Regions from separate parts of the Homo sapiens genome. Here region 1 is linked to region 2. The links are contacts of gene promoters, found by promoter capture Hi-C in human tissues and cell types (Jung and others, 2019). All regions are on one chromosome and are shown on one strand. The core of a region is centred on a gene start or on the middle of the fragment in contact, and the rest is flanking DNA. Distances in the headings are between cores, read along the strand shown.

Region 1 (3,477 bases), core at 285-2,784, 45 kb before region 2:
TACATGTTCTCTTATTTTAGATTTCAGCCCATCCTTGGGCAAAGGACACACATCTTGCTTAAGAGGAAGAGACAACAGCCACTGCTTGTTAAACCTCATCTGCTTCCCATGTGAAGGCGAAAATCCCTACATGGCTATGTCTGAGGGGTGGGGCAGGGTCTCAGACTGCATGTAGAGAATTTTCCAAAGGCTCTTAAAACACTCTAGCTCTCAGGCTTGGAAACGTGTCTCCAGCATGGAGTGTGACTTCTAGATAATGAGATGGGCTATTTAATAAATATATTGGAATCCATCCATCCAAATGAGTGTCCCTCCCCCATCTGAGCAGTCATCAGAGATGCCAGATATTTATCCCAAGGTTGCTGCCATTGTTCCAGACACTTTGGGGCCTCTCTTGAGAATTTTCTGCAAATCCATGCCACATTATTTGGAATAAGCACAATGGTGGCAGAGCCCCATCCTGCAGAGCTGAATTTTATTTTTGGAAACAGTCAAGAAGCTTTTTGGCATTTGTAGCCAAGCTCGGTGAATAACCAGCTGATTGAGCTGGTAATGTTGTTTTGGGTCCAAATTGAAGCATGGTTACAGGGTCTGGTGTTCTTGCATGACGTGGAAACAAGGCTCCCAAGGTCATCTCAAATGCAAAACTCCTGCACTCTTTGAGGGTTGGCAGCACCACTGAACCAGGTACATGACCTTCCAGACCCCTCTGTAAAGACAACTTGTTTGGGCACGTGATGCTCAGTGGGATTCTTTGATTGTAAGCAACAGAAGCTGAGTCTGTCTGACTTACGTGAAAAGGAAATTGACTGGCAGGGCTATGGGGGAGCTCACTAGTTCAAAGGGAAGGCCGAAGGACCAGGTTAGGAAAAGGCAGCTCAAGAAGGAGCCAGAACCTTCTGACAGCCTAGCTCTGGTGCTGCAGTGAAAATAACTAAATTTCAAACAATTCTTCAATCCTTGCATTGCTCTGCCCAAAAATGAAAGACTCAGAGGAGACTGTAATTGGGTGCATGTCAGACTTGTGCCCAACTCGTGGCTCCACCCCTTGGCCAGAACTTCCAGGGATTGTTTCGGCTTGTGTAGAGTAAAGGGCAGTATTCCTTGATTACCATTTTTCTGAAACTGCCCACAAAAGGGGAGAAGCAATTACCTACTAGTAAAGAAAGGAAGAGAGAATAGATGCTAGGCACCAAAAAATGACAAATTTGAACCATAGCTAAGCCCTGTTATTCTTCTTCCTACTACTCTATAATATTATGTATAAGAATTTTTGCTCTATTTGTCAACATTTTTCTCACGTTGTAAATTACATTGGCCTCATTAGCCATCACCAGTTCCATGAGCTGATGGAATCTTTCTTCTTTATCTCATAGCTCCTAAAAAATACACCAGTCTATGGGCTGCTCCATCTTCTCCAGATGGAACTAGACCCTGCTCCTTTCCCTCAGAGCACTCATGAAGCCAGCAGCCAGCTTCGTTCTTCTCCTTGTCCTAATGAAGAGAGCAGGTGCTCTTCCTGCTTGCGGTATGCCTGCTACAGCCACCTCTGGCAGTCACATGGAGGCCAACTGTGCATCTGTCACTGTGGATGAGCCGGGGCATGCATGAGAACAGCCTTTGGTCATCCCAGAGGTGCACTTGCCTCTGCAAAGTGCCGAGGCCTCCTGTGTAGTCCAATTGTGCTTGCTCCCAAGAAAACCAGCCACAGCCTATGCAGAGAAGAATCACCCTTCAACCCCTGCACACAGAGGGAAAACCACGTGCATGCATCTGGACCATTATTAACATGTAAGCCAGGTCCTGAGACAGTAGCTGGCCCACCCATCCCAGCCTGTCCTGCACTGAAATAAGAACTCACTTTGTGAACTGCCAAGAGCTCTGGGGATCCCATTTGACCTCAGTGTCCCTGGCCAGCAAGGGACAGAAGGCCACAACCTCCCTATTGAGGATCTTTGAGAAGTTATTCCAAGCCAGAGCACCAATGCGGACCACAATAGCTGCAACAGCCTCTAAAATGCTGTTTATGTAGGTTCTGAGAGCGATCAAAGCTGCAATGTGTGGGAAAAGGGCTGGGCTCTGGGAAGGAGGAAGGGTAAAGGGAAGATGAGGCTGTGTCTCAGATGGCCCAGGACTGGGAGGGAGGCCGCTTGGGGATGAAATGCACCAAGGGCAGGGACTGGGCTCCCAAACAGACTGCCACCACACCGGGGAGAGGAGAGCTCTAGCATTTGAAGCCAAGACCTTTGCAAGCACTCTCAGGGGGTCCTCTAAGCCTCAATTCCCTAGCCTGTGAAACCAGGGGAGACCTTCCTTTAGTGGTTTGATCTATCAGAGACAACACATGCGAATCATCCAGCCTGGGGCCCATGGGCACTCAATGAAGGGCAGCCCTTCCTTCGTGAGATGTCAATGTTATCTAGAGCAGTACTTTCCAACGTTAAGATGTCATGGCACAGTGAACTTTCAAAAACAACCTTGAGAGCACTCATGCAGGATTGCGAGTGTTTTATTTTGCCAACTGAGGACAATACAAAAAACAAAGCAAAACCCCCATCATCTATGATATAACCATAAAAATACTTTTCAACACCAGAAAAACAAGAATTACAAAATCTTAGAATTGAAAAATCAGTCCTTTAAATAATTTTAGCGTTATGAAAATATTATTAGTACATCATTCTTATTTAGTTAATTTTGCTACAAGATGACAACAATTTCATTCAGACTGGCCCTGCCCTGCTTTGGGAACCAGGGGCAGGAAGGAAAAGTCTGGGCCTTGGTGCCAAACAGGCCACAACCACCTCCCGGCTCTGACCCTTACTAACTGGGTGACCTTCAGCGAGAGATCTGCCCTCCTGTTCTCACTTTTCTCTTTTATAAATCAGAAACAGTAGCATCTCCTTCGTAAATAAGATTATGTGTAAAGGGCAAAGCACAGAGTTTGGTACATTGCAGGTGCTCATTAAATACTAATGCCAGAGTGTCCTGAGGTTTGAGAGAGGGCTGGGTCACTTCCAGATTCTGAGACTCTCAGTATATTAAGAAATGAAGAAATGCCAAAACAGAGTTGCCAAAATCATTCATATCATTTAAAGATATCACAAGAAAAAATATCTGAAACACATGCACACACAAATACAATGGTTGTATATACAGCCTTATGAATCTCGCATTTGAGAGAGTAAGGTTGGAGCCAGTAGCCCCTTGGTCCCCAGAGACATGCCCTGGTTGGCTCCTTTATAAGCCATGGCTCTCATGGATGACACACTCTGAGACACTGACTTTACTCATCTGTATTCCTTTGTTCTTTTCCCGACTGGGGTTCATGTGGAATATTTCTCTAGGCCTCCCTTCCTTTAATTCATAATTCTGAGCATGAGATTTTCTTGGAAATCTAGCTGGTGTCTTCTTTGCATCACTGGATCTCAATAGGTTTCAAAAGGACTAAAATTGAGGGTTAGAAGGAAAGATAAA
Region 2 (3,867 bases), core at 421-2,920:
ATTAGTACCCACCGGAAATGGAAATGTTCTAATTGTGGTCCTCTGTGCCATCATCAAGACCCTCAACTCCCTTCATTACCTCTTAAATTGACTTTAGGACCTACTGCCAGAAGGATGTTCTTAACCAAGTCAGAGAGAGAGAGAGAACATTTTCTCAAGAACCATGCTGGAACAGCCACCATGTTCCCACTTTTCCAGCCTCCACCTCTCCCCCATGGCTGAGGGTGAGGTACTCTGTGACTCTCAATGAGCTCTAATTCAGTCTTGGACATCTCCAGCCCCAAGTCGTCTGGGTTCCAAATCTCCGTCAATCGCTTATCTCTTCCCACATGAGTTCTCCCCTGACTCAAGAAAACACTATAGAACTGTCCCCTGTCCTGGGACCCTCTTCCCTTCTTTTCCACTTGGCTTCACGTGGAAAGTCCTGCACCCATCCCAGAAGACACCTCAAGTGCAACTCAAGAATGTGTCCTGTCAGGAGAACGGAAGCATCTCCTGGGATGTGCAGAAGCCACACTGGGTGCACCCACCAGCAGCAGCAGCGGCGGCGGCGGCGGCGGCGGCGGCGGCGGCGGCGGCAGCAGCAGCAATATTCATTAGTCATTCCTGGAGGAAGCCCCCCCAGCTCTCAACCCTAGGAGAATTTCCCCGCCACTCTGGGAGGCTTCCATCCAGGCTGGGATGACTTTGGATTCTTGAGTTGCTTTCTGCAGAAGCGGGACTAACCAGGGCTCCCAACTACTGTACTGCAAAGAAGCGCGCTGCATTGCTGGGCATGCCCCCAAGCCCGGCCTGGCTGCCCCATCAAAGCCTCCAAGTGCCCCCACGGGGTCGAGGAGGACTCAGGGTTCCCCTGGAATGCCTGAAGCCGGCTTGCCTCAGGCAGCCTGAAGGGAAGACCACACCTCGTCCAGCATAAGGCGGCTAGCAGCTACGCCGCGCGCGGGGCTGGCTCCCGGAGCTCTCTGCCACCCAGCGCTGTGCCCGGGAACTCGGCTTCCCAGGGGAGGAAGAGCCAGCCCGCGGGGCTCTTCCCCAGCCTGGAAGCGTAGGCACTCGGCCGAGGCCAGTGGCTTCCCAGGCCCGGGTCTCAGCCTGGCTGACTGGGAGACTCTCCCGATAGCCCGGCACATCCCTCCTCACCCGCTCCGCCCCCTCCAGGCCCCAGAGGCCCCCTCCCCTGACAGCTGACCTCCAGTGCGCCCCCAACACTTTCTCTGCCAGCTGCTGGCTGTCGCCCCCACACATCAGCTCCCACCTCTCCGCCACCTCCAACCCGGCCGCCGCCTCACCCCCAGCCCGCGGGGGAGGCTCCGCGCGCCAATCGAGTCCAGCGCCTCCCAGCAAGTTAGGAGCGAAGCCGCCGCCTTCGCGATCCCAGTCTTCCCGGGTTCCCGGGCGGCGTCCCCGCCACCCTTGCGGGCGGATCCGGGGGGGCGCGCAGAGCTGGAGAAACTTTCTCCGCCTTAGGGTGGGGGGCACCGGTGCAGATACTCACGCCGGGGTCAGCGCTCGGAGCCATCCTCCCGCTCTCGGCCCCGCCGCCTAGGGGCGTGGGAAGCGGGCGCTCGCTGCCGCCTCTGCCGCCGGCGCCGCCGCCTGCTTGCTCCCAGCCCCGGTCCCGGGCTGGCCTCGAGCCTCCCGCCCCGACGCCGCGCGCTCGCTTTATACAACTCCACTCGAGCGCGCCCGGTCTTATGTAAAGGCTGGCGGAGGCCCGCAGCCAATGGCGCGGCAGCTGGAGCCGGGGGCCCGGGGTGGGGGGCGCCGGCGCGGCCAATCGCGGCCCCGAGAGCCCGGAGAGCCGGGCGTGGGGAGGGAGCGCCTCCCCGCGCTGATTTAGGAGCCGGGATTGCGGTGGCAGCAGCCGGCAGCCAGGCTGGCCCGGCGCGGCGCGGCGGCCACTGGGGTGGGCGGCGGCGAAGGCGGCGGCGAGGGCGGGCGCCCCCCGCGCCCCGCCACTGCGTCGCGTAACCTTCAGGCGGCAGCGAGGCCTGGCGAGGAGGGGAGAGGGCGCCTGGCTGGGCGCTGGGGGCCCCAGGCCGGAGGGAAGCGAGGGTCCCTCGGGAGGCAGCGCAGGGAAGGAACGCGAAGGGGGAGGGGAGGGCGGCGAGCCCCAGGACCCCGCGGCCACCCCTGCGCGCAGGACCGAGGGTGGAGGCGGGAGCGGCTGCACTGCCTTCCCATTTCCCCCCAGGATAGCGATCTGGCGTCGCCGGGCCGGGCCAAAGCGGCCGAGCGAGCCGCGCTGATGGCGAGATTTCGACTACGGAGCTAGAGCCGAGCCGATCTTTATCCAGCCTGGGGACGTGTCCGAGCACCTCCCGGGGACTGCTCAGTATGGAGAGCAGGGCTCCGCGACGGCCCCCGCAGGCGGGGAGCGGGCGAGCGCAGCTCGGAGATCAGGCGCGCAGAGGCCCAGGCGGCTGCGGGCAGCGCCGCTTCTACCCCACCCCGTCCCCACCAGCAGTGCCCCCACCCCATCCCACCTAGTCCCTACCCCAGCAGTGGCCGAGTCGGGCCTGGCCCACCCGCTCCTGCCGCCTGCGTCCTACTAGCCTCCCTCACCGCTTTGATCACAGGTACTGCCCGCCTCTCCTCGCCCCCAACCCGCTGCCTTGGTGGTGGTGGGGGGATGGTTTCTGCCTCTCTGGACCAGGGGAATGGGGGTGCTAAGCGCCAGAAAAACACACTTGATCAGCAATGCTCAAAATACCCCTGTTCAGGCAGGAAACTGGCCTTGGTGGGTCACACTCTGAAGGCAAATCCTTTATTTTACGCCTAGAATAGAGCCTGGCACATAGTAGGCGCTCAGTGTTTATTGAATGAATTCTGAGCTTCCATGAGTGAGGTCTTTGGGTTTCTGAAAGCCAGGTAAAGGGGCCACAGAAGAGAAAGACTTGGGAATCCACCATCGGAGAGGGAAGGAGCTAGGACTGTTTTCCCATCCGTTGACGCTTTTGTGACCATCACCCACTAGTCTGGCTTCTGGGCCCTTGACTCTTAGAATGATTTGAATGTGTTCTTTTATAGAGGGCCACACATCCAGCCTCTGGCCCCTGTTATCCACAGATTTTGAGCAGAACTACCAGGACCTAGTCTGGGCTCTGTTTTCAGGTCTCTGTGATCTTCCTCTGAAAAGAAATAGCTAGGCACAGACAAACTTTCTGGCTTTTTGAGCCCCCATCAAGCCTGTAAGGTTGTGGGCCCCTTTGAAAATCTGGCAAAAATTACTGAATCATTTTTCTAGAAAAATATACAAACACACACATTTACACACACACACACACACACACACACACACACACACACACACACCTTGAGTATACTTTCAGGATCATTAGGAACCCTGAGTCTCTTGGGGCTCGGTCCAATGTCAACCTGTTTCTTCAGGGGTCTAGGACAGTAGTTTATAATCACCCTCCTTTTGGGGATCACAGACCCTTTAGAACCTTTCAAGAATCTCATAAATGTTATGGATCTGTTGCTTATAAAAATGCTCACTCACATACACACATGTTGACATGCAACTTTAGGAGGGTTCGTGGATCATTAAAACTTAATCTAGGGCCCTGATTAAGAACCTTCATCTATCGGCAAATAGACTCTGCCCCCAAGGCCATATCTGATCCCCAGCTCTCTGCATAAGGAGTCCAGTTGGCTCTGCACCCTGCTGGAACATGCCACCACCTTGTTCTGAGGGCATCTGAGTCATCTGGCCAAGGCTCTGGCACCTGAGAGACTGTCTCCACACTTTCTCTGCATCTTGGTCCCCGCCACCCTCTTAATGTGGAAATAAGTTGCAGGTTGTCATATTATGTCTGATCTATGAGCATTCCTTAGCCAGAAACTCCAACTCAGGGAGAC

Evidence for each region. Contacts are between HindIII fragments. The study calls those that stand out against the background at their distance.
Region 1: a fragment that was not itself captured here is called in contact with the fragment with the promoter of CRTAC1 in region 2 in 5 of the 25 tissues and cell types used here (hippocampus, liver, neural progenitor cells and 2 more).

Annotation. Positions count from the first base shown.
Region 1 is chr10:97,984,006-97,987,482 of GRCh38, forward strand. All of the region lies in intron 2 of CRTAC1 (cartilage acidic protein 1), which reads right to left. Among named protein-coding and RNA genes, the nearest start is that of CRTAC1, 45 kb to the right of the region's middle. The HindIII fragment of the contact is 8,913 bases long and covers 1-3,477 here.
Region 2 is chr10:98,028,951-98,032,817 of GRCh38, forward strand. CRTAC1 (cartilage acidic protein 1) reads right to left here and starts at 1,671. Exons shown (of 15, transcript NM_018058.7): 1 at 1,499-1,671. The coding sequence starts at 1,522. The HindIII fragment of the contact is 23,473 bases long and covers 1-3,867 here.